Linked DNA regions of Homo sapiens: regions 2, 3, 4, 5 and 6 are each linked to region 1. Evidence: promoter capture Hi-C in 16 types of primary human blood cells and fetal thymus (Javierre and others, 2016). All regions are on one chromosome and are shown on one strand. Each heading gives the region's core, a stretch centred on a gene start or on the middle of the fragment in contact. The rest is flanking DNA. Distances are from core to core; before and after follow the strand shown.

Evidence for each region. Contacts are between HindIII fragments. The CHiCAGO score rates a contact against its expected background, and 5 or more counts as called.
Region 2: a fragment that was not itself captured here is called in contact with the fragment with the promoter of AURKA in region 1 in 1 of 17 cell types (total CD8 T cells); the score reaches 7.6 in total CD8 T cells.
Region 3: a fragment that was not itself captured here is called in contact with the fragment with the promoter of AURKA in region 1 in 9 of 17 cell types (total B cells, activated CD4 T cells, naive B cells and 6 more); the score reaches 15.0 in total B cells.
Region 4: a fragment that was not itself captured here is called in contact with the fragment with the promoter of AURKA in region 1 in 1 of 17 cell types (M0 macrophages); the score reaches 7.7 in M0 macrophages.
Region 5: a fragment that was not itself captured here is called in contact with the fragment with the promoter of AURKA in region 1 in 1 of 17 cell types (endothelial precursors); the score reaches 6.2 in endothelial precursors.
Region 6: a fragment that was not itself captured here is called in contact with the fragment with the promoter of AURKA in region 1 in 2 of 17 cell types (activated CD4 T cells and naive CD4 T cells); the score reaches 5.4 in activated CD4 T cells.

What each region holds. Positions count from the first base shown.
Region 1 is chr20:56,389,139-56,393,464 of GRCh38, forward strand. AURKA (aurora kinase A) reads right to left here and starts at 3,077. Exons shown (of 9, transcript NM_198437.3): 1 at 3,030-3,077. CSTF1 (cleavage stimulation factor subunit 1) reads left to right here and starts at 3,507. Exons shown (of 6, transcript NM_001324.3): 1 at 3,507-3,575. RefSeq lists an enhancer at 3,223-3,462. The HindIII fragment of the contact is 5,454 bases long and covers 1-3,344 here.
Region 2 is chr20:59,026,776-59,031,101 of GRCh38, forward strand. ATP5F1E (ATP synthase F1 subunit epsilon) reads right to left here. Exons shown (of 3, transcript NM_006886.4): 2 at 3,528-3,654; 3 at 1-2,066. The coding sequence ends at 3,531. It overlaps SLMO2-ATP5E (SLMO2-ATP5E readthrough), which reads right to left. Exons shown (of 6, transcript NR_037930.1): 5 at 3,528-3,654; 6 at 1,903-2,066. Among named protein-coding and RNA genes, the nearest start is that of ATP5F1E, 3.4 kb to the right of the region's middle. RefSeq lists an enhancer at 2,039-2,569. The HindIII fragment of the contact is 696 bases long and covers 2,052-2,747 here.
Region 3 is chr20:58,655,534-58,659,859 of GRCh38, forward strand. It overlaps STX16 (syntaxin 16), which reads left to right. Exons shown (of 9, transcript NM_001001433.3): 2 at 4,090-4,101. It overlaps STX16-NPEPL1 (STX16-NPEPL1 readthrough (NMD candidate)), which reads left to right. Exons shown (of 23, transcript NR_037945.1): 2 at 4,090-4,101. Among named protein-coding and RNA genes, the nearest start is that of STX16, 6.4 kb to the left of the region's middle. The HindIII fragment of the contact is 309 bases long and covers 2,464-2,772 here.
Region 4 is chr20:54,200,956-54,205,281 of GRCh38, forward strand. No RefSeq gene overlaps it. Among named protein-coding and RNA genes, the nearest start is that of PFDN4, 5.0 kb to the right of the region's middle. The HindIII fragment of the contact is 5,383 bases long and covers 1-4,326 here.
Region 5 is chr20:54,339,536-54,343,861 of GRCh38, forward strand. No RefSeq gene overlaps it. Among named protein-coding and RNA genes, the nearest start is that of PFDN4, 130 kb to the left of the region's middle. The HindIII fragment of the contact is 2,012 bases long and covers 1,357-3,368 here.
Region 6 is chr20:58,402,324-58,406,649 of GRCh38, forward strand. All of the region lies in intron 1 of VAPB (VAMP associated protein B and C), which reads left to right. Among named protein-coding and RNA genes, the nearest start is that of VAPB, 15 kb to the left of the region's middle. The HindIII fragment of the contact is 5,875 bases long and covers 1-4,326 here.

The DNA.
Region 1 (4,326 bases), core at 1,827-4,326:
TCTTTCCCTCCTTGCTGGGTCAGTCTCATTTTTGCCAGATCAAGGGTCTGGGGTGACTCAAGAACGAGTCCCTGGACCCTCCACTTCTCCATCTACACCTTCACCAGGGATCCATATCACCCAGTGCCTCAGCTCTAAATGCCTTCATGAGGACCACTCAAAGTGCGTCTTCTGCCCTAGTCTCTCCTTGGACTGTCAGACTTGGATATCCAAGGATTTGCCCAGGATCTCCCAAAAATGTCTGCCAGGCACCTCAATCCTAACATATCCAAAACTGAACCTCTTCCCTTCTCCACTTCTCACCTCCCTGTTCATGGGTGTGCCCTGAGCTCAGGCCTAGAATGACTTCTCCATCTCCAATTACTCCCTAGCCGAGTACATCCAGTCTCTTTGCTTTCAGTACCATCTACAGGCTGAGGACTCCCAAATATTCATTCTTCAGCCCAGACCTCTCCCCTGAACTCTTGATCTACATTTTCTACTTTCTATGCAACATCTGCACCTGATTATCTGAGCGGCATCTCCATTCTAACATGTCCCAAACAGAAGTCCTAATCTCTCCCCACTCTCACCTCCCCAAATCTAGTCTCTAGACATCCTCATCTCAGTGCATGGCAAACCCATCCTGTCAGTTGCTCAGGCCAAAAGCCTTGGCATAATAACCCTTTACGAGGTTCTCTCTCGCAAACCCTTCATTTAATCCACCAGCATATTCTGTAGGCTCTGCCTTCAAGATCACTGCTCACCACCTCTACTACTACCACCTGGTCAAACCATTATTCTCTCTCCCTTGAGTTTTTTCCAACAGCCTCCCAATGGCCTCCCCACTTCCACCCTTACCCTGTCATGGTCCATTCTTAACACTGAGGCCGGCAATCTCATTAACAAATCAGATGTGTTGATCCTCAGTTCAGAAGACCCCCATGGCTCCCAACTCAATCAAAACAATGCAAACTCCTAACCTGCATAGACAGGCCTATTGAAGTCTCACAGAACATGGACCCTAACTACCTCTCTGACTTCATCTCCTCTTCTTGTCAACCGTGTACCAGCCACACAAGGCTTTCTTTCTGCAAATAAGTCCCCTGCCATAAGCATTTGCACTTCTTGCTCCCTTTATTACGCTTTTCCCCCAGGTGTGTAGTTCAGTCTTTCATTTCACTGAGGTTTCTTTTTTTTTTTTTTTGAGATAGAGTTTGCTCTTGTTGCCCAGGCTGGAGTGCAATGGCGCAATCTCGGCTCACCCGCAACCTCCACCTCCTGGGTTCAAGCAATTCTCCTGCCTCAGCCTCCAGAGTAGCTGGGATTACAGACATGCACCACCACGCCCAGCTGATTTTGTATTTTTAGTAGAGACAGGGTTTCTCTATGTTGGTAGGGCTGGTCTGGAACTCCCGACCTCAGGTGATCCACCCACCTCGGCCTCCGAAAATGCTGGGATTACGGGCATGAGCCACCGCGCCCGGCCTTCACTGAAGTTTCTTATCAAATATCCCCGCACTCTGGCCTGGGCAATGGAGTGAGACCCTGTCTCAAAAAAAAAAATTAAGATTACCATTTTACAATTAAGCAAATAATTCCATGATGAAGCCAGGCCCAGACTACAGGCTGCAGCCCTTATAAAAAAACAGTGGGTAAGTAAAAGTTGATAAACAGCAACAAGGAAATGCACACTTGTGTTAATCAAATATTTAATTTCACACATGCTCTAATGCTTTACTTCCCTTACAATTCTAAGTAGCAGTCTAATGAGATCACATAGGCCTAACAACATTTATTCAACATTCTTCTGACAGAAGCTACAGGCATTTGCTCCAATTTATTCTACCTTTCTTTCTAGGGAAATTGAATAACAAGCAGAATGGAATAAGATTCTAATCCAGAATTCTGGAGACAACGCCAAGGAGACTGCCCTTCAGGTGACTCTAATCTGCAACCAGATTGAAGAACCAGATGACTTTCACAGGATCCATTCAGTTCAAACCAGAAGTCCTACTATTTTGAATAGAAAAGCTGTTAGGCTAATAGCGCAGGAGGTTTATACGGTTTATTCCTTCCTCCCTCAGACCTGTGCATGTCTGCAGAGATGAAGGGAAGGACGAACTGAGTAGGTTGCTGAAAAACGTTTAATTCAAGGGACAAGGAAGGTTACGGAAGAGGAAGAGACATTACGAGAGTTAAGGACAGTGGCTACGTCTACCTCAGCCGGATGGTTCTTAGAAATGGAGACTCTGAGGCCTAACCCCAGGTCTAAAAAAACAGATTCTGCATTTTAACGTCCCCAGACGATTTGTATGCACCGGTCTGCATCCCTAGTTCTCAATGAAACCTAAGAATCATCTGGAGAGTTTGTTAATAACTAGACACCTGGGTCCTACCCCTCAGAGATTCTGATTTACCGGGCTCTCGGTGGAGCTATATGTTTAACAAGCACTGCAAGTTATCCCGGTACAACTGCTCCAAGGTCTACGGTCTGAGAAGTACGGACCGGGAAGGCCTCTGCAAGGAGGTTCTCATTCATCAATTCACCCACTCATCCAGCCAGGACAAGGGCCTTCTTAGGCTATTCTATCTAAAGCGGCCCCCGTTAAACCGCACTCCTGCTTTTCCTCTGTAACACCCACCCCAGCTGCAAGTTCTCCGTACGCTTACCGTCTGTCTCCCCACCCACTAGAACGTGAACTCCAACACAGCAGAGACCTTCTGTGCTTTTCTTACCCAGGTGATCTCGGAGGACAAAATCCAATCTGAAGCCCACCCACCCCTCCCGCGCATGTCAACACCACTCAACAAACCCCTTGTACCTCTAGCTGTAATAAGTAACAAGCAGTATCCTACAGGGCGCCTCGGTGCCCAGGAGCGGATGCAAAGGCGCTGGGCGGGCACAAGGCAGCGCCAAGGACACTCAGGGACGGAGGAACCGACAGGGGACTTGACGCTCCGCCACTCCGACCAGCCGCCCCTTGTCCCCGCCGTCCTCGTCCGCCACTGAGATATCCCCCACGGTCTACCCACCCGTCGGCTCCCACCTGCGACCCAAGGACCCAAGTCTTCCAAGAGCTCAGCCGTTAGAATTCAAAGGTTCTTCTTTTTAAATAGGAGTTAAACCCTCTAGCTAGAAAGCCGATTGGCCTGCGCTCGAGCGAGGCTGCCTTGTGATTGGTTGACAACAAACCCGACGCCTTGAGTCGCGTTTAAGGGCGCACACCGCGCGCAGGCGCACTTGCTCCCTAAGAACCCGGAAGTGGTGGAGCCAACGGCCAGCCAGACCTGTGGCAGTCCCAGCCCCAGGGTGCTCTCCGCGGTCGGCCATTTATCGGTGAAGCAACAGCCCCTTGACGTCAAGCTTGACGCATTGGAGATAAAGTCCAAGGAGGTGAACTAACCTTTGAACGTGCCAGTAAGTAAGATGGCGAGAAAAGCAAGAGAGAGTGGGACCGATCGATAGCGCAGCGGTCGGCTTGGCGCCCTTTCAGCGTGCGCAGTGAACGTGCGCTCGGAGCGGTAGATTGGGCAGGATTCGCGCCTCCATTTTTCCAGGAGAGAGCGGGATACCAAGAGAACCGGACCAGCTGGTACTGGGACACGGGGAGAGTAGCTGGTGCGGTCGGCTGGGGCATTTAGAGAAAACCACAGAAACGACTGGGGCGAGACTGGAAGAGTCGAGAGTTAGCAAGGTGGCATGCGCCTCTACTTTGCGTTTCCTAAGTTGCCCGGCTTGGCCTGCACCCCTTCCTCTTCTCGAAGGGCCTCGCTTCCATTCCCACCCAGTCCTTAGTTCGCCTCTGCATCCAGATGGTCGCGGCGCATATAGTGAGGGGGCATCTGTGTTCTAGCCTTTCCAACTGCGATGTATCCGGTCCTGGATCGGGTTCTTGTCCTCGTGTGCTCACCTGCAAATTGGGGATAATTAGGCTTCTGTTTACCTGGCGAGTGAACGTTCTGTGGGAGTTGAGAAGTTAGGGGTGGGCCACTTAAAATATATATATATATACACACACACACACATATACATATATATACACACACATATGTGTGTGTGTGTGTGTGTATGTACACCCGGGATGTGCTCAGCAGAAGTGAAGAGACCGGATAGAACAGTGGTGTAGGGGAACCAAAAATGGCTTCCCTCCATCCTTCCAGGTACCTTATTAGGACTAAGAGTTAAATTCACATAAGACGAATTAACAGATTACTGCAGGGTAAACAGGATGTGCATGTAAAGCATTGAGCTAGCATACGGAAATTATTCGAGTCATATTAACCCAACGTTAACAGTAGAATCTCTCATCAACTTTTCTTTGCCAGACTACCCACTTGTGATTT
Region 2 (4,326 bases), core at 1,150-3,649, 2.6 Mb after region 1:
GATTTTGAAGAGCTTATCCTTTAGCAGTACGGTTGCTCCAGCGACCTTGGTCTCTCAGAGCAGCAGCATCACCGAAATTTAGAGCTTATCCGATTCCTTCACTTTGCTCACAAGAACGATGTGAACTAAGAGATTAACTGACAGCTTCAAACATCATCCAACTAATTAGTGGGATACTCATTAAGTTGGTCTGACTGGGGTCACCTCATCACTGGGCACAGTCATCCTGCCAGCTACCCAGCACTGCTGGAGGCAGGAAGTTTATTATACTACTGGTTTAGGATTTTTTTTTAATCACGGAGAAAAGAGCCTCTAAGAATCTCTGCTGACAGTAAACTTGTCTTTTACTCAGTGACTTCACTCCTTTCCATATCACAAGCCCTGTCCCTAAGTCTCACCTCTAATTACCCCATCTGCCTCCTTAATAATATACCATCTCTATACCAATAATCTACCAATATACTACCAATCTACTATGCCATCTATATACCAGTAATACCCCATCTGCCTCAACATACCATATACCAATAATCTGCCAATATACTACCAATCTACCATACCATCTATATACCAGTAATACCCCATCTGCCTCCTTAACATACCATCTATATACCAATAATCTACCAATATACTAGCAATCTACTATGCCATCTATATACCAATAATACCCCATCTGCCTCCTTAATAAATGACTTATCTCTAATTACTTGACTGGAAATCATTTAGCCCCTTTGCCTATTAGTTACTTTATTCGTCCCATGTCAAAAAGGCCCGATAGCTTTTTGATTCATTTATTCCTGTTCCCTGTAATGGAGGATACTTCCTAGTACCTTAATCTTGGGGGCCACAGCACTGAACTGAGGTGCCCTAACTTGCCAACAGCAGGATGACAGCTCCGAGGCGGAGGACTCCAAGGGCTCCTAACCTGCTGTTTTCCAGAGGCACCCTCTTCCACTCAATTGGCTCTGCCTCCCTGCTCGCTCTGTGCTGAGAATTCAGTAAAACCTACAGGTCAAGTGTCGGGACAATAAGTCATTCCCAGAAGCCGAGAACAAAGATGTTCTTTTCGGCTTATCCTCGGCATTGCTGACAGTGGCCCTGATAAATCATTGTGAGCTTAAGTACCATGTGAGAACTGATCCTAGAATGGTGTTTCAAAATTTCCAGTTCAAATTTATTTCTCCAGTCTCCAAAAACAGTTAAAATCAGGCAGTTAACTTTGCAATGGTGTTTTACTTGCCCAAGCCCTTTCAAGTTTCAAAGAAAGATAAAAACATAACTTGCAACAATTTTTCATCCCTAAATAATGAATGAATGAATCACTATGGAAATACCACGAAACTGCTGTTGTGGTCACCGTGTCCCAGACTTGCAGTCAAAACTCCTAGGTTTTAATTTCAGTTTGGCCATCAACTCAATGAGCAAGTTATTCAATAGCTTTGCCTCATTTCCTATGAGAAATGCTACCAGAGTATAAAGATTCATTTACAAAACAATGTGAAAAACACTTTGTGCTTAAATTCTGTAACCGTTCTTATCTATAGGCTTTAAGTGCACAATACAAAACAAGTACAATTTAGTATTTCTTCTTCTAATCTACACTTTTAGTATTTAATAATTATTTCCATTTGTTACTGATAACCATGTCATTATTCTGACATGACAACAATTCAAAAATAAGGGACTACGAAGCCTCAATGACAGCAGATAATTTTGATCACCAATTAATGTCATGAAACAACTATTTTGAGACATTTTCAAAATGCTTTCTGTATCCCTTTGGTCACTAAATATTAAATCTGGCTTCCCCTGCTTTTAAGAAACCCTGGTTCACATGGCCATAATCATGCAGCTGTGCAGACAGTTCCTTTAAAGAAAATGAAAAAGTCTCACAAACTAAAATCAAGAGTAACAGTGAACCATATTTCAATTTATTGACATTGTCAATTTATGAACAAGACAGGATTTTTTTTTTTCCCATGGAATGAGATCCTTTTCAATCTGCCATAACATGTGCCCACACATCTTCACCTTGGAAATGTAGCATTTCAAGCTTTAGTCAGGGTCTAGGAGGAAAAAGAAAATGCAAGTTGCTGGCTAGTTCTCTGTGTTTTCTTAAAAACTCAACATGAATATAAGAAATAACTTCCTTATAGTGAACTGTATAACTGTGGCTATCATTCACATTGCCGTGGCTCAGATGTAAAAAGTGCTGGTTCAAGTACACAGGCTTAGTCAAGCAGGCATTTTCCTGCTGAGTAAAAGTAAACACTCTCCCAGAATAAAGAAACTACTTTGCCTTTAAAAGACACTAACATCTCCTTGTGCTAATGAGGTGGGGTCTGTAACCCTGAAGGGCATAACAGAGAGGGGCTAATGCTTTGTTTAAGGGGATCGGACACTACTTCCTGACCCCCAGGACTTTGCAAAATCTCAGCATTAGATGCAGTCTGGCAGCTCTGAGCCGAGTGAGGCTAAATGATTTTCTGTTAGCTTACTGTTAAAACAAAACAACCCAACATAAAACCAGGTCTCATTACTCAGAATTATGAGATTAGACAGAGAGCCCCTAGAAAAAGGGCTAAATTCAAAACACTGCATCTCCAGACTTGTAATAAAATATTTACTAATTCAAAATGAAAATGAAAAGTGCTTAGGGGAGACAGTTCCAATAAGTAAAATTGCTCATAACCATAAGCTGCCAAAGGATTAATATTTATCACATTTCTGTGCTATTATGGGTCTGAAGCTTTTTAAAAGCAAAACAAGAAAAATTAAATCTGAAAAACATCTCTCTGATAATTTGCCTTGCCTACTTTTGAAATAACAATGTCAAGAAAGTACTTTAGAGATCAAACCACTTTTATAATGTGGAACACAAAAGTCTACACTTATCAACTGTACAGACCTTTTTATTTCACGAGAATTTAACTTTACATCACCAACATCTTTGGAAAAGTAAAATGAACCAAACCCTCTGAAAGCATAATAAATTAGCAAAACAGTATTCGCTGCGGGGTCTTGCAGATTTTATTGCTTGATACAACAGCAGGACCCTTGCCTGTGCCTGTAGTTATTATGTTCGGGAAGTAGTGATTTGTGAGAACATTAGTGGTTGTGGGGGAAATAAAAATGTAAAGAACTGTAGTTTTTCATGCTCTTGGACTGTTATGTAACTCCAATTGCAATTATACAAGTGGGGAGTTCATCCTCCAAATTATTTGATTTGTGCAGACAAATGAAACAGGTTTAATTCAAATACGATGGCTCTCTACCTAAGCATTGCTAAATGAACTGAAAATCAATGTGCCAATTACTTCTGCTTGTCAGGGCCCAAGAAGACTTTCTTTTTATTAGGCCAGGGGACTTCTATAACCTGCATGCTTTAAATTATACCATCCCAATAACTAACTTCCAAATACACTGACTAAAAAATGAATAGAACCCAAAACTAAAATTATTTTGATCTTTATGGTGCTCCAAAAACTTAAGATGCAACTGTTCTTCTAAATAAATCCATAACTTACAGATTATTCCTTCTTTACTTTCACAATTTTTACGTTGCTGCCAGAAGTCTTCTCAGCATTTGCTTTGAATTCTGTCTTCAGTGCATCTCTCACTGCTTTTGCACAGATCTGGGAGTATCGGATGTAGCTGGGAGAAAATGAGAGAAGGTATATGGTTAATTATCAATATTCCAGCCAGACAGCTGTTACTGTGTTTTCGCTTTTCTTCCTGTACTTTTTATTTTGGTTTGGTTGTACCTTATTGTAGAATTGGATTTAAAAATATGACTAATGCCAAAAAGTATCTATACAAAGAAAAAGAACTAGAAAAAAATGTACCAAAGTATTAACTGGTGTTTGGATGGATGATCTTTGATTTTTCTTCTTTGTACTGTGTTTTCTCTTTAGTGTATATTAATTCAAAATGAAAGATGCATAAATGTTTTTAAAAATCCCACAGCATAGAAAAAAAGAGACTGAAATGTTTAGAGACTATAACATGAATCATGAATTCTCTCCTCGATTTCTCTCCTTAAAACTTTAATTATATTATTCTTGGAAAATGAGGTATACATAAGAGAAAACTATTTTGAATTAAAACAATTCGTTCTAAATTATTTAAACTCTTCTCTGAGAATACTGAATTCTGTCTCACAAGTCTGCCACTGAAAATAACCTCCTAATGAAGATTTCTAAATCAAACTGAAAAGTGCTTAGAGAACATCATCAATTCTAGCAAAACTGTAAAACCTGCTTCCTGTTTGGTAGATGGACTCCCATCAACACTGTAGTTTCCAAAAGATGTCAGATCACCTTTCCC
Region 3 (4,326 bases), core at 1,368-3,867, 2.3 Mb after region 1:
CCTAATGTCCCCATTTGTGATAACCCCTCATGCCTATCTTATTTGGCCATGGTGTATGACAATGATGGAAAATGCCAGCAGCTCCATGATTTTTACCACTAAAAAGTCTTTGCCTGTTAATCCCAACTATTTGTGTCCTGGGGTCCTGCTTTTAGTTCTGTTCCTTCGGGTCTTCCTTCTGTCTGGTAACCCTGCAGCCTTGTTACCCAGAATTCTTTCCAGGCCTAGCATTCCCGGCTCAGAGTGGTTATGCTTTTTTCCTATAAATGATGTTTAGTTTTTCTGTATCCTTTTTAGATTTCAGCATCCAGAACTGAGCAAAATTCTACTTTTTTGTGTTCTTAGTTGTATTAAAGTTAGTAAAACTAATTGTAAAAAAACAGACAGGTTTGACTTTATGCACTCCTAACAAAATACAGTCGTATTTCCCATGCATTTTACTTTGGCCTCAGTTTTGAGTGCCCCATCACGTTCATGCCTCAGGGCAGCATGAAATAAAGGAAAGAGCACTGAGAATTGAATCTGAGAATTGAGGCCTAAGTCCTGTTCTGCTGCAGGCTCAGAGTGTGTCCTTAGGCAAGCCTTTAATCTTTTCGGACATTTTTTGCCTCATTTGTAAACTGAGGGGTTTGGGTTAGGTGATTTCCAGCAGCCCTATCGATTCAACAGTATTTTCTCAAGTTCTGTTTTAATACATTGTTTCTCCTGACTTTAGCTTTAATTTGAAAAGGAGAAATTCATAGTCAACAGTGTTGTAGCTGTCAGTCCAAGGTTACTGACAGAAATCCTTAGAAGTAGCCCCAGTACTGTGCAAAAGTAACTTTCACATTATTATGCCAGCCAAGTGCAGGTTTTAAGGTAGCAACTCATTCAAGCAGCTTGGCTTTAGGAAACTGAAATGGATTTATGAAGCTAAACAATTATTCAAAACAAATTGTAAAGTCATAAAGAAATGAATGAAAGGTAGATATTGAGATGCTCTTCTGATCTGATGAAATTCTGTATGGATTTGTGTGGTTTCCTTCGATCTCCGGGAATGGATCTAATATAGGGGTTGGAGCTACTTTGTTAGTGTTTACTGCCTAATCTATACTCTGCTTTAAAATAATGCATAATCTATAATTGGAAGCTAGCGTTAATTGGTCTTAGATTAGTTTGAAACATAAGCACATTATTTTTAATAAAATGTGTGCTTTAGGAAAAAGGAAATTAAGGATTAACTATGGTTATAAGAAACCTGAGGTCCTTATTCAGGCTTGACTACAATATTAGCTAAGATTTATGGAGAGTTTACTTTGTGCCTGGCTCTGGGCTAAGCCCTTTCCGTGTGTAAGCTCAGCTCATCTTCACAGTGCTCTATCAAATAAGTACTATTGTTTTTCTCAGATACAGATAAGGAAACAGATTTTAGAGGAGGTAGGAAACTGGCCCAGTGTCACCCACCTGATGGCTGGGGGCTGTGATTGGAACTCTGGCAAATCTGGCTTCAGAGCCCCGTGCTCACCTCCTGGGCCACTCTGGTGTTGGCTGCATTTTCAGAACTTGTGCTGCAGATCCTGGAAAATGGAAGGACCTATTGTTTTAAAACAATTTTTTTTCTTGCAATAGGCTAGCATCTTTCTTTATCTCACTTTATGAACCTTACATAGTCAATTTTAACTTGCAGATTGAAGATTCTAAGTTTTAGTACAAGCTGAGTCTGTTGGAAAATTAGTTCTCTGTCTTTAGAATCCAAGTATGAAATCATTATATATTTCTCTTTAGATCTACTTGCTTTTCTGCTTTTAAAGATTCCATGGGAGCAGTGAGGCTTACTTTGAGAATAAGGGTACTTTGTTGGATAAAAGTGAAGCAAACTTTTATTTTGGCAGTAACGGAAATAAAGTAAATATCACTATAGCATAGACCTGTGTTTCCAACTCATTTTGCTCAACTTTTCCAGACTTCCTGAGTAAACACAGATGGGTTTCCACTTATTTTTCAGTTTTATGTAGAAAGTTCTTTAGACTATAAATTCCACATGCTACTTGGAGTTTTCAGTGTTTGCTTGATTGCATGCCATTGGAAGGTCAAAAACCTAGATTTAGACATTATAAAGATTTAGAAGGTGATGATGTGTAGTAACGTGTTTTCATTTGGCTTTATTTTGGTCTTTCTTGATGGTAATTCTAAATGTTTTAATTCAGGTCTTGACTAAATTTCCTGGTAATTTGGTGGCAGACAGAATTTTGAAAGCCTTCTATTTTTAAATAGCAGAATGGTGGGGAGGGTCTTTGAAAAGGTGACCTTAATTTAATATTCCTGATGTGGTGGTAGCTGCCTATCACAAGTAATTCCCTGAATTGTTAATAAAATTAGAGAGGCTGGAGGGTGGGGTGGAAAGAGACCTGAACACCTGGGTCTGTCCCCAGTCTGACCATTAACAAGCTCTGTGGCTTCAAGCAATGCATTTATACATTTTGAAGCTTAGTTTTCTTATTTGTAAGAAAAGACTTATTTCTAGCCCTAGAATCCCATGATTCTGATTTCACCTCTTATCAACTAATAATTGTAGAAATCAGAAGATCAGGGTGTGTGTGCTCGGTTAATAATCCAAGAGCATAGGCACATGTGCAGCAGAGATTTTAACCGAGGTTTGCAATAGTACATCGTTCAAAGATTAAATGCCAGGGAGCCGCTGCAGAATAGGAAGAAGACTGAGATACTCAAGTTAGGGATTTTGTCTTGCATCATGTTTTATTAATAAAAGATTTTAATGTTCTCTTAATGTTAAGCTTTTAAAAAATAAAAACATTTTTTCTTTGTAAAGTAAAAGGTAATTAAATCAGCTTTCCATTTGATTTATTAATATCGTCTAGTACTACTATTATGGCAGGGTGTGTATAGAGTTCTTTTTTGCTCTCATAGAAAATTGTGGAAGGAATGAAGAGGATTTGCAGCTTTTCATAATGTCATCTAATTGAATTTTTACGTGGAGTAAAGTTTGATTACATTTTTATTGCTATCATTGTTTAATAATATTTTGACCCTGATAGAGCAGCTTCATTTGCACTATTTTTAAATAAGAAAGTTATGTTTTATTTTCTAAATTTACTGCTAAACATAAAAAAACACAATTGATTATTGAATTTCACCACTAATTATTTCAGTGATCAATACTGTACAAAAAAAAGACCTAGTTGTTTAGATTATCTGTCATTAGTAAATGTCTGTCCAGAAGATAGAGTTCCATGTTGATCTAAAAAAGAACCTTTACTTTTCAATTGAAACTTAACCCTCTGGTGTCATGCTTCTCCCTTCCCCCTCCCCTTAAAAGAAAAAAATTATTCTTACCTTTTGTTTTGTCTCGTTTGCTTGCTTTTATAAGAGCCTTATGAATAACTGTATGCTTTCTAGCTAATAATAATACATACCAAGAGATGGTAAGAGTTTTTCTTTTATTTTGCCACCTGTGTCTCTCTCCGGGAAAGAGTGGTTTCTCAGCTCTCTTACTACCAGGGATGAAGCCGTGTCTGCGGGATGTAATTTGCAGAGACCTTACATATGTGGTCACTCACATGTTATCTGAATACAGCTACAGACAATTTTTGTGGGTCATTTATTTTTTAATTTTGTTGCATTTGCAGGTCTGATTTACATGTTAAAATATACATTTATTTAACATGATAAAATTACATTTTAGCTCTGCTCTCTTATTTTATTTTCCTGAGGGAAAATAGAATGTGGTATTGTATGTGATATTTGGTGTTTATGAAACAGATTAACAGCATATTTTAGTGAAACCAAAGCAAGTGTGTTTTATCTGTTTCCAGTGTATTTTAATATTTACAGTCATTTTTTGCTTGTTTCCTAGCTCATTTTCAAAACAACCACAGTAAATAAAAATTAAAGCATATATTGATGTAGCTTAATTTAAAAAAAAAAAAGGAGATTTTAAAATGCCTTGCTTAGTGGATCTTTATATTTAGTCAGCTTAAAATCTCAGTGTTTTCTCAACTGACCATGCCTTGTCTGTCTGTCTGTCCCATGCTGCTTTCTTTGTGCTTTCCCCAACTGGATGGGACTGATGGGGACAACATGTCTCTTCAGGAGCTGGACGAGGTATTGTGTTTTGAATATTTTTATATGTTGGGTAATTTGAGTTTATAAAATACCTACTTTTCCTGAAGTCTTTGCTCATATATAAAATGCTAACAGCTTATACATATTTAGCATTTGTTTTGATTACTTTATAATTTTTTTAACAGTTTAATATGTAGAATTTAATCTATTTTCACACCATGTGAACTGATGATTTAAAAAAGGCTTTGGGAAGATCGTTTACTA
Region 4 (4,326 bases), core at 1,019-3,518, 2.2 Mb before region 1:
TCAGTGGGAGGCCAGTTTTCAACCTGGCATAAGGGAAAGTCTTTCCAAATGGTCATTGTTGATTCTCCTCCCTGACCTGCAGGATCCACATGCTTCCACTTGTACCCCATGCTTCTCCCCGGAGAGCCAGGGACAGTCCCCAGCTGGAGAAAGGACCAGAAACAAAGGTCGGAAATGCTCCACATCAGGAAATGAGAAGATGCTCAGCAGACTTGAAAGTCCCTGTACCATGCGGACTTGCAGAACGAGTTTTTCTGCTAGGAGAGAGATTAGCTCAAAGGATAGCAAGGTCTGGGGAGAGGAGAGGGACAAGAATGATGAGAAATAGAATGAGAAGGAAAACCTCTAAAGCAAGGGGAAGATAGGGGCATCAGAGGGAGCTGAGTCAGCACCAAGACTGCCAGGAGCCGCCACTGTCCTCTGTCCAGATTCAATGACACTGCCCTGTGCCCGCAGACTCTCTGCCCAGTGCCTTTTCTCTCTGCTTTTGTATGGTCTGTGTGGGGAACTAATGCATGGAGAAGCGTGCACCATCTCATGATAATGATGGAGCAGCCAAAGCCTCATAGAGCATCCGATTGGAGCCATGGCTTCTTTGAGCCCAGCCAAAGGGATCCAGCCCCTACCTCCATATCACCTGTTAGAGGAGACAGTGCCCCCTAGCCCTTCTGTCTCTGGAGCCCCTGTCTCCTGGTGCAATTTCTCAGCTCAGTGACTAGCTAACCAGGCACTTGGACATTAAGGAAGCATGGTGATGAATAAGTGGGCCCTGCATGAGGCAGGCTTCTCAGGGTTTCTTGGCAGCACATGTATTAGCATTTGGACCAATCTGATTTTATTTTATTATTGTTATTTACATTTATGTATTTATTTTTAATGTTGTGGGTACACAGTAGGCATAAATATTTATGGGGTACCTGAGATATTTTGATATGGGCATACAATGTGTAATAATCACATCAGGGGCCGGGTACCGTGGCTCACACCTGTAATCCCAGCACTTTGGGAGGCCAAGGCAGATGGATCAGCTGAGGTTGGAGTTTGAGACCAGCCTGACCAACATGGCAAAACCCCGCCTCTACTAAAAATACAAAATTCACTGGGTGTGGTGGCGCAAGCCTGTAATCTCAACTACTCGGGAGGCTGAGGCAGGAGAATCCCTTGAACCCGGGAGGTGGAGGTTGTGGTGAGCCAAGATCACGCCATTGCACTCCAGCCTGAGCAACAAGAGCAAAACTCTGTCTCAAAAAAAAAAAAAAAAATCACATCAGGGTAAATAGTGCATCCATCACCTCAGGCATTTATCCTTTGTGTTACAAACAACTCGGTTACACTCTTTTAGTTATTTTAAAATGTACAATAAATTATTGTTGACTGTAGTCACCCTGTTGTGCTATCAAATATTAGATCTCATTCATTCTAGATGACTAATTTTTATACCCATTAACCATTCCCACTTCCCCGTCCCCTAGTACCCTTTTCAGCCTCTGGTAACCATCCTACTCTCCATTTCCATGGGTTCAGTTGTTTTAAGGCTTTTAGCTCCCACAAATCAGTGAGAACACGCAACATCTGTCTTTTTGTGCCTAGCTTATTTCACCTAACATAATGTCTTCCAGTTTTATCCATGTTATAGCAAATGACAGGCTCTCATTCTTTCTTTTTTTTATGGCTGAATAGTACTCCGTTGTGTATAGGTGCCACATTTTCTTTTGTATTTTCATTTTACTTTAAGTTCTGGGATACATGTGCAGAACGTGCAGGTTTGTTACATAGGTATATGTGCCATGGTGGTTTGCTGCACCCATCAACCTTCATCTAGGTTTTAAGCCCTGCATGCATTAGGTATTTGTTCTAATGCTATCCCTCCCCTTGCCCCCTACCCCTGACAGGCCCTGGTGTGTGATGTTCCCCTCTCTGTGTCCATGTGTTCTCATTGTTCAACTCCCACTTACGAGTGAGAATGTGTGGCATTTTGTTTTCTGTTCCTGTGTTACTTTGCTGAGAATTATGGCTTCCAGTTTAATCCATGTCCCTGCAAAGGACATGATCTCATTCTTTTTTATGGCTGCATAGTATTTCATGGTGTGTATGTGCCACATTTTCTTTATCCAGTCTATCATTGATGGGCATTTGGGTTGGTTCCAAGTCTTTGCTATTGTAAATTGTGCTGCAATAAACATATCTGTGCATGTGTCTTTATAGTAGAATGATTTATAATCCTTTGAGTATATACCCAGTAATGGGATTGCTGGGTCAAATGGTATTTCTGGTTCTAGATCCTTCAGGAATCACCACACTTTCTTCCATAATGGTTGAACTAATTTACACTCCCACCAACTCTTTATCCATTCGTCTGTTGATGGACACTTAGGTTGTTTCTGAATCTTGGCTATTGTGAATAGCGCTGCAATAAACATGGGAATGCAGACATCTCTTCGATATACTGATTTCCTTATTGGGGGTTATATACCTAGCAGTGCAATTGCTGGATTATGTGGTAGCTCTATTTTTAGTTTTTTGAGGAAGCTCTCTACTGTTCTTTGCAGTGGTTGTACTAATTTACATTCCCACCAACAGCGTATGAGGGTTCCCTTTTCTCCACATCCTCTCTGGCATTTGTTATTGTCTGTCTTTTGGAAAAAGCAATTTTTAGCTGGGATGAGCTGATATCTCATTGGAGTTTGGATTTGCATTTCTCTGATGTTCAGTGATGTCGAGCACCTTTTCATATCTCCATTTGCCATTTGTATGCCTGCTTTAGAAGAATGTCTATTCAGATCTTTTGCCCATTTTTAAACTGGACTATTAGTTTTTTTCCTATTGAGTTGTTTGTGCTCCTCATATACTCTGGCTGTTAATCCCTTTTTTCTTGCCTTATTTCTTAATTAAATATTAAACTAAATATTTAGTTTGCAAATATTTTCTCTCATTCTGTGGTTTGTCCAATGTAATTTTAAAGTCCTAAAAGAATTTAATTCACTGACTCTTCAGTATGTTATAACCTGAACTTCTTGGCTGATTTTATGGGCCTCAGTGTTAGACAGCACCTAAGGATGTGTCATGTTAAAGCCTCTTGGTTTAACCTGTCTTTGTTCTCACCTGCCATTGGCCACCTGCTCCACCCCAGCAGCTCCCACAGTGACCAGCTCCACACCGGCCATGGTGTGCAGACTTGCAGGGCTGCCTCTCCGTCCAGTTGGCTCGTGCTTACAGCCTCACACCTTGTTCCTCCACCTGGGGGCTTCCCTGTGGAAGGCTGAGGTGAGAAAAATTATGGGAGCCTCAATGAGCAACCTGGAAGTGTCTGGGAGTGAGGTCCCCGTGGGGCCAGCCTTTGAATGGGAGGCAGGAACTGGCAAATAAGAGTTCTCCCCAGCTGAACTCTCCTGTGTTCTGGTTAACACAGCCTCTTACAGGACAGTCCCCAGAGAGGGAGCAACCAGTCGTGCTTGATACCAAGCAAAGGTCGGCTTGGTGAGGCCTCCTGGTATGGGCTCTGCTGCCTTCCCTGACCTGCTTCATTCCGCTTTTTCCTCGCTCTGGCTGCCCTGGGATTGTACTCCTTAATGAAGAAGCAGTATCTAGGCCTTTGCCTTGGGGTCTGCTTTAAAGATTCCGGCTGGGATGGCTTCTAACCATTGTCATTCTTCTCCCCCAGGATGCTTTCCAATTTCTACACATCTGAAATGGATGCTACAGTCTCAAAAGGCAGCACTAATCATGGCCATGGGGGTAGTTAGCAGTAATACCAAGCCAGGGGAGTTCTTGAAGAGGAGATTTGAAAGATCATAACTTGGGCAGTGGAATTTCAGACGCAACTGGGCTGAACTGAGAAAGTAATCATAGCTAACATTTCCTGAGAGCTTACAATGCATTTTATTTGCACGTATTATCTCTTCTACTCTTTGCAACAAGCCTATTAGAGACACATTATTATTTTTGCCATGAAAGTAACTTGTCTAACATCAAAATTAGAAAGTGGTGCAGGTATGATTTGAACGCAGGCAGTCTGGCTCCAGTAAGCCCTTTATTGAGTCTTAAACACTTTACTCATGCAAGTCAGGTGACAGGAGCTGCAATGTCCACTATGAGCTGCCCACTCGGGGACACATCTGACTTTATACATGACTTGTGGTGATGGGTAAAGCCTGGTGCTTAGGAGAGTGGTCTCTGGAGCCAGGTTCACCAAGAGTTCGAACCCAGGCTCTGGTACTTCCTGGCTGCTGGAGCCTTGGCCAAGTAGCTTTGTCCTCCTGAAACTCTATTTCCTCTCCTGTAAAATGATCGATAACAATATTGTGTGGTATGGTGAGGATTAAAACA
Region 5 (4,326 bases), core at 1,113-3,612, 2.1 Mb before region 1:
GTCATTAAGCAGTAGGTTCTAATCCAGTATGATTGGCGTCCTGATAGAAGAGGAAATTGAGATACGGACATATGCACAGGAAGACGATGTGAAGACACAGGGAGAAGATAGCCATCTTCAAGCCAAGAAAACAGGCCTAAAACAAATCCTTCCCCATGGCACTCAGGACAAACCAACTCTGCCAACACCTTGATCTCAGACATTTGGCCTCCAGAACCATGAGAAAACAAATGTCTAAGCTATGCAGGCTGTGAGATTTTATATGGCAGCACAGTCAACTAATACTAGGGGGTAGCTAACAAGGTAGACTTTTACTTGTTATTTAAAGTCTTTGGTTCTGATATTTTAACAATGTGTACTTCTATTTAAAATCAGGAAATTGAGGCCAGGTACGGTGGCTCATGCCTGTCATCCCAACACTTTGGGAGGCTGAGGCAAAAGGATAGCTTGAGGCCAGGAGTTTGAGACCAGTCTGAGCAACAAAGCGAAACTCAATCTCTACCAAAAAAAAAAAAAAAAAAAAAGAGGGAAAACACTAGCATGGCACAGTGGCTTATACCTGTAGTCTAACTATTTGGGAGGCTGAGGTGGGAGGATGTCTTGAGGCCAGGAGTTCCAGGCTGCAGTGAGCTATGATGATGCCAGCACTCCAGCCTGGGCGACAGACCAATACTCTGTGTCTAAAAAGGAAAAAGAAAGTCAAATTAAAGCATTAAAAAAGAGAATTCAAAGTCCTTTCTCACCTCCATTTGGCCTGCTCCTTCCTTCCTTCTTTCTTCCATACTCCCTTGAAATTTTGCCCCACAGGACGTCATGGATATTTCCAAAAGGAGGGTGCTTCCTAAGTGCTTGCCTCTGAGTGGCATTTGAGGTAGAACTTATGACATAATTCTTCTTGGTCCAATGTAAATATTAACATACTTCCCTACCCTACATGTCTAATTATGGTTAGCCTATGATTTTGTTGGAATCAGACTATGGACTTATCTTTGTTTACTTTTAGTATTTGTTTTTATCCTGTTCATTATTATACTTCTCTGAAGTTCCAGATCTGAAACTGTTTAAATTATGGGTCTTTGGTGGCAAGCAAGAGAAAGTGTATCTTGCTCTCTTAAGCAGAAAAATAATTCATTCAAGGGAAATAAGGGACCTAAAAGGATCCAAGTGAAAGCCATAGACTGAGGTTTGGAAAAACACAAGGAGCAAAGAAAGCTCACGGGGAGAGGGGGAGTTACAGCCAGAACTGAGGGGCTGTTACTTTAGGATGTCAGCGATGAAGTTAATCAGCCTATGATCTTTTTTGTTTCTGTGTCATTTCCTTCAAGATTCCACACTCAAAGGAAACAGCGTTCAATAAGCTTATCTTGGGTCATGGCCAGATCCCTTAACCAGGGAAAGGAAGGACACTGTTATTTCTACCATATTCTATCCAGCAGGGAAAGTACGCTCATTGCAGAGCTGACTCAGTGTACTTTTACCAGAAAAAGGAAAATCCTAACTAGCAAAGATTACACAAGATTCCTCTTAGATAATATTTGGTTTGCTTATTCCACACTGTAAATTTTCTGACCAGTGGTAGTGTTCTCTAGGAAGCGCTTCATATATTGCAATCTCCCCAAGAACAGGGCTGGATTTATCATTTTCTTGAGTGACATATAAGACAATAAGTGATTAATAGATGCCTAGAGTTATAATTCAAAATAGGTTTCATTATGTTTTGCCCTGATAACTTTCTTTATACTTATTGTGTGGTTTTCTTCTCTAGGTTGCTATAAATTTGGTCTCCTTGTTCAAGGTAGTTGTCACTGTGTTGACCAGGCCTTGCTTCTTAACTCAGGTAATTGAAAAATCTATCCAACATCCTCATCAGCAGAAAAAAAATGTAGACTGAGAGAGTATCTTCCTTTTGTCTGTGTGATTACAGACTTAAGGAAAATTTGCGTTAATTAATCTCTTTATAATGCACATTATAAAACAAATTTCCTAAAGTGTGGAATTATTTAAGTTACATAGAGTTATGACTCAGGCATTGGATTTTATTAACACCAATGGCATATTACATTGATTTGGTGTATAGTCATGAAGTTACTATTTATTTTTACCTAATTAAAATGTTAAAGTGGAGGGGTCTGGATTTTAATCATATTCCTCAAAAGCTACTTTGATACTGGATAAAATGTCAGCTCTCGAAATCCACAAACCTCATTATCCTCATTGTAAAAATCAGATATTCCAGATGTTAAATATATATCAGATGAGAAAGGATGTGGGTAAACCTGGTGTCAGAGAAAATGTGGTAAGCATTCCCTTTCATTCCTGCCTCCTCATTTAATGCCTATGCCAGGCAGAAGAAAAAGCAGCAATACAGAAAAAACACATTATTTAAACTGAGGTCTGAGTTCAAATGTGGATTTTACCATATCCTAGCTGAATGCAAGCAAATTACTAAAATTCTCAGAACTTTAGTTTTTTCATCTATAAAACATGGCTAAAAATGTCTATTTCTTACTGTTATCATTAGGATCAAACGAAATACTTGATATATCCATAGTGAGTACTCAATAAATGGAATCTATTATAATTTGACAACTAACATATTTATATGAGTCTTACTCATTTCTATGCATGAAAGAAAATACACGTTTGAGACAGATTAATAATTACTTGTTTGATTAATCTGTCTAGATCTATTTTTTCAAATGAATATGAAAGTTGTGATTGATAACTGGAGCAAATCATATAATCCATCATTTCCTAAAACATTTCTAGGGCACACCCATGCTGTCAGATGTAACAAAATGGGTTATCAGAAAAACATTTGCGTTCATACGGGATTAGACAAATCTTGATTGACCAATGTCAAACTACTGTCTTGACTGCAGGACTTTTCAGAGCCTTTAACATACAAGCATACATTGTGACTTTCCAGAAGCAAATAGAGTAAGCAGAATTTTTTAACTTATTTGACCAATGAGTACATTATCGTGGGGGTAGGGTTATTCAGACAACATTATGAAGAAGTGATGACATCGCTGTTTTTCACAATCTACTTGCAAAATGGCACAAGAAATGATCACAGCAGACAATCAAACTTGCCCAGAGCAGCCATTGTGAATTTAATCTAATTGCTCTTGAAAGCTGGATTTGTTTCTCTGAATTGAGTTGCAGCCTTTGAGGAAGAAACAAATTGCCTCCCCACTGCTCACACTTCTGCTCCATCTGTAAATGTTAGGAAATAGCATAAAAAGAAATTCAAATTCCTGTAGCAGTAAATATGCAAACACACATTTTCTGCAGATATAGCGAGGGCATCATTTTCCCCCTTTTACCACCCCAGAGTCCCTGAACAGGTTTGAATCTGTTGACAAAGCTTTTTAAAACCATCTAGCTGACCTTTATTTTTTATTTTTATTTTTATTTTTATTTTTATTTTTATTTGTTTTGTATGCTAGCAATCTGTTAACCACATTTCCAGGGAACTTGCATAGAGAGCTCCTTCTCTCTCTCTCTCTCTCTCTCTGTCTCTCTCTCTCCCGCTTTCTATCCTACTCCCTTCCTCCTTCCCTGCCTTCTTCGCTCTCCTTTCTCTCTCTTCCTTTTTTTCTATTTCTTATTCGTTGGCAGTCTTGCCACTGGATGTGCAAATTAAAACTCATTTAATCATCTGCATGCCAAGCACAAGGACTCAGTCAATCACGTTCTATGCCATTGGCTAGGTAATTACTTGAAATTTGCTATCTATTGTTTCATCCTTTGTTCCCAGCCTACTATTGACGTCAGAGGAGTTTTGCCTGTGAAAGAATGAGGTCTTATTTTTGTGTGTGTGTATAAAATATTCTAGTTTGCTCCAGACTTCTGTGCCCAAGTGGGTCTCTGGCAAAGAATGTTCTGTACATCCATCAACATTTAGAAGTGCAGTGATGGTTGCATGCAAAGTGGAAGTTGGAAATTGAGCAGAAAGAAAAAACCTTGTGGAGCGTAGTCAAACCGGTTACTCAAAGCTTGTGTTTTAAGATTTTCTTCAGCCTCTTGCACACTCATACCAAACGATAATATCCACATTTGCAGATTGAGAAACCAACATCGAACTACTATCTTAATTGCAGGACTTTTCAGAGCCTTTAAAGAGAGATATAGTTATGTCTTTGTCCTTATGGGAATAACCGGACCTTTGCCAAACTGAGAAAAGTTCAGGCACAAGGTAGACAATGTAGTGGATAGTGAGTCAGATTCTGTACCAGGAAGATTTTGTATGGTGTGAGTTCCTCTCTGCACTGCCCACCTTGGTACTTCCAGCATCTAGGATAACTGTTGCCACACAATTAA
Region 6 (4,326 bases), core at 737-3,236, 2.0 Mb after region 1:
TTTTTAGCTGTTTCCACCACTAAAAATTAGTTGATTCCTTTTCCTCTTGTTTGTTTCACTGCGTCCCCCTGCTTACCTTTGAGGCTCAGCACAGGCTTCACTTCTTCAAGGTAACTGTCCTGACATTCTTCACTCACATTGTATCTGTTCCTCTGGCTCCCACACATGTCACAGCATGTTGTCATTGGCAACGTGATACGTGACTCCCTTTCGCTGTTAGTCAGCAAGCCCCCCCACCCTTTTTTTTTTTTTTTTTTTAGATTGTGTCTCTTCTCCCCACATCCCAGTGCCTAGCACAGCACAGTGCATGGTGCATGGCAGTTTCTCAGGGAGTTCATGGTCTCTGGGTCTAAGGCATAGGCGAGGAAGGGTTGGTGTTTAGGAGAAAGCTGAGAAAGATGCCAGGCGCAATGGCTCACACCTGTAATCCAAGGATTTTGGGACTCCGAGGCAAGCGAATCAGTTGAGGCCAGGAATTTGAGATGAGCCTGGGCAATATGGCGAAACCCCATCTCTACTAAAAATACAGAAATTAACCTGGTGTGGTGGTGCATGCCCATAATCCCAGCTACTCGGGAGGCTGAGGCATGAGAATCACTTGAACTCAGGAGGTGGAAGCTGCAGTGAGTCAAAATTATGCCACTGCACTCCACTCTGGGTGACAGAGCAAGACTGTATCTCAAAAACAAAAACAAAGCTGAGAAAGGAGAGAGGGGGGAAGAAAGAAGACTTTCAGTGGTGAAGAGTAATGAAGCCTGTCGGCAGGGCCCGTTATGTACAGCCGATCGATGTAGACACAGTGCATTTTGCTCAGAAAATATTTGAAGATTTTCCACTAAATGCTGGTTGCTTTTCTCTCTTGTGGAAACTTATGTTTTTACTTCTCCTCCTCTTCTATTTCAGAGAGTCAGGACTACCTCTTAGGTGTGTGTTCTTTTACCCCATTCCTTTCCCATCACTTAACAGTATTTTGCATCGTTAGCCTATTACTGCTGTCTCACTTTTCTCTTGTACTTGATTCCTTCCTTGTGCCTACAAACATGCTTAAGTTGCCCCTTCCTAAAAAGAAATCTTGTTTTCTAGATCTTCCCCGCTTAAGCAAATGCCCAGTCTTCTATCACAGCTAATTTTGGGGAAGCGGTGAATCTCAGTTTCTGGTATCTTTACTCTTCTTTCATCAGACCTCACCCCTTCACTCAAACCCTTCTTAGTTCCCCCAGGTTTCTCTCTGTGATACTTGTCTTTGACTTTTCTGATGAACTGTCCACCTCTTTATCATCTCTTTTACTGGATGTTGAGGTTTCTCAGGTTCTGGCTTCAGTCTTCTCAATTTAACAATTCTCTGTATGTTGTCTCATTAATAATGCCTTCATCTTCCACTTCTGCACAGAAAACTTCCAAATCTCTATCTCCAAGCAAATCTTTTGATCTGTCAGCCTGCTGGACATCCCTGTCTATCTGGTTGTCATGAGAACACCTCAAACTCAGCATGTTCCACACTGTATTTACCGTTTACCTTCTCATCCCCACTGACTGTGGCTTCTGGATCTTGGGAATGGCCCTTGCACCAAGTTGGCAAGCTGGAAATCCTAAACTTGTCTTTCACTCCCCATTTTCCGTAACCTTTCACATCTACTCAGTCCATTTAAATCAGCAGCATCTCCTATGCCCTTTTGCTTCTTAGTATTCTATCGTATCCTAAGTATAGGTCCTTTCCCTTCCAGACTATTGTAGTAGCACCGTGACTCAACTTTCTGTCTCTATTTTTTCTGCCTGCTTCTCTCACCCTTTGGACTATACTTTATACAGTTTCCAGAGATATTTTTCTAAAAATTGAAATTTGATATCATTTCTTGGTTTAAAAACATTCATTGGCTCTCTAGATCTTACGGATAGGTTCGTGGCCCAAATTCTTAGGCCAGCAGCAAAACTCTTCAGAGTCAGGCCACACCGCATCTTTCCAGCCTCAGCTTCTTTCACCCCTCTCGTACCCCTTCCTCTTCAGCCATTTGATGCCCCCAGAAGCCCCTTATAGCGTTATCACACTGTACTTTCACCCAAGTTCCCTACAGCTCAAAGTGTACTTTGCGTTATCTGCTTTTCAGACTCCAGGGCTTGCCTCAGTGATCAGTTCCCTGTGCTCCTCACCCTCCCCTTTTGATAGGATGCTTTATAGATTACCTTTCATACAGTGTTCGATGCAGTTAGAGGTAGTATACTGCCCAGGAGTTAAGAGTGTGAACCCTAGATTTGCCATCTGAAAGTCATGTGTCCTTCAGTGATGCATTTAACCTCTCTGTGCCTCAAATTTCTCCCTCTGGGGTATGTTAGGAGTATACAAATTAACACATGTAAAGTGCTTAGAATAGATTGGTACTGTTAAATATGAGCTAACGTCACATTTGATATTTTTTTAAAAAGAAAAAATCATTATGGAGTCTCAGTCCTAGAGATTCTGATTCATTAATTCTGGATGGGCCCCAAGATTGTTCTGTGTATTCTGGGTGGGAGCTGCAGTGCCCTGTTTCTCTCTCTAGCTTGAGAGCCTAGCACAGCACCTGAACCATTCTCTTCATGGGTTACTTATTGAGTACCTGTAGTGTGCCAAGCATTGCTGAGAGGCCGAGATGAGAAAACTTTTACCTTGTGGAGCTCATCTTCTAGTGGAGAAGGTGTACATTAAATAAAAACAGAAAATATATATGATGTGGTGTCAGGCAGTAGGTGATAAATGGGAAAAAAACAACTAAAAACAATGCAAGATAAAGGGATTTGGGAATGGATTCAATTTTAAGTAGGGTAATTAGGGAAGGTCATTTAAGTAGGGTGATTAGGGAAGGTCATTTACCTGAGGAGGTGATATTTGAACTGAGACCTATATAAAATGAGTGTATGAACTGTGGAGACATTTGGGAAGAGCATTACAGACAGATGGAAGGGCAGGTGCAAGGTGATGATGAGCTTGGTGTGTTCAAGGAGCAGCAAGGTATGCCTGTGCTAGAGTGGTGGAGGGGCCTGCGGGGAGATGAGCTCAAAGAAGAGGGCAGGAGCCTTGCCGGTAGGCAGGCCACAGGAGGGACTTTGGATTTTGTTGTGAGATGGGAAGCCACAGAGGAATCTGAGCAGGAGTTTATTTTTATTTTTATTTTTATTTTTGGAGACAGAGTCTTGCTCTGTCGCCCAGGCTGGAGTGTAGTGGCGCGATCTCGGTTCACTGCAACCTCTGTCTCCCGGGTTCAAGCAATTCTCTTGCCTCAGCCTCCTGAGTAGCTGGGATTATGCCCAGCTAATTTTTTTATTTTTAGTAGACAGGGTTTCACCATGTTGCCCAGGCTGGTCTTGAACTCCTAAACTCCTGAGCTCAGGCCTCCCAAAATGCTAGGATTACAGGTGTGAGCCATCACGCCTGGCCAGGAGCCTTTTTTTTTTTTTTTTTTTTTTTTTTGAGACGGAGACTGGCTCTGTTGCCCAGGCTGGAGTGCAGTGGTGCGATCTCACTCGGCTCACTGTAACCTCCCCCTCCCAGTTCAAGCAATTCTCCTGCCTCAGCTTCCCAAGTAGCTGGGACTACAGGCATGTGCCACCACGCCTAAGTAATTTTTGTATCTTTAGTGGAGACAGGGTTTCTAGATTAAATGTAGAGGAATATAGAGGAATGTAGATTAAATGTAGAGGAAGAGAGACTGCTTTTGGCCTAAGCAGTTGGGTGAGTGGTGGTTTCTTTACTGAGATGAGAAGCATTGAGTTTGAGGGAGGAGAGTGGGACTCAAGAGTGCCGTTTGGACATGAGAAACTTGAGATGCTCAGTACACTTGCAACGAGAGATGTTAAATAGGTAGTTGAGTCTGGAGCTCAGGGGAGAGGGCCAGGCTGCAGATATAAATTTGGCAGTCAGCTTATTGTTGTGACATAGAACAGTAAGGAGTAATTTCTTCTGATTAAAGAGATTTGGTAAACCTTTCCAAAAGAGAAGACGTTTGAGCAAAACTTTGAAGAATGAGCATAATTTCCAAAGGCAGAGTAAGGGAAAAATAGAAAATATTTTTCATCCAAGTCTCACAGCCTTTCCCCTGGCCTCTTCTTGAGTTTAAGAAGCTGCTGACCTGGTTGATAATCTCTTATCACTGGTATAGCCACTTAGGTTCTTTATTGAAAAGGAACCAGAACAGATTACACACTAACTGATAAACCACGTTCTACTGTTTCTCATCGTTCACAGATTGAAAATTCCAGTTGGATCATCAAGGTGCAGAATGCTAAACTTGTTCTTCTCCCCTGTTCTGTATCTGGTGTGAATTGGATGTGTTGATTTTCGTATGGAGGCTT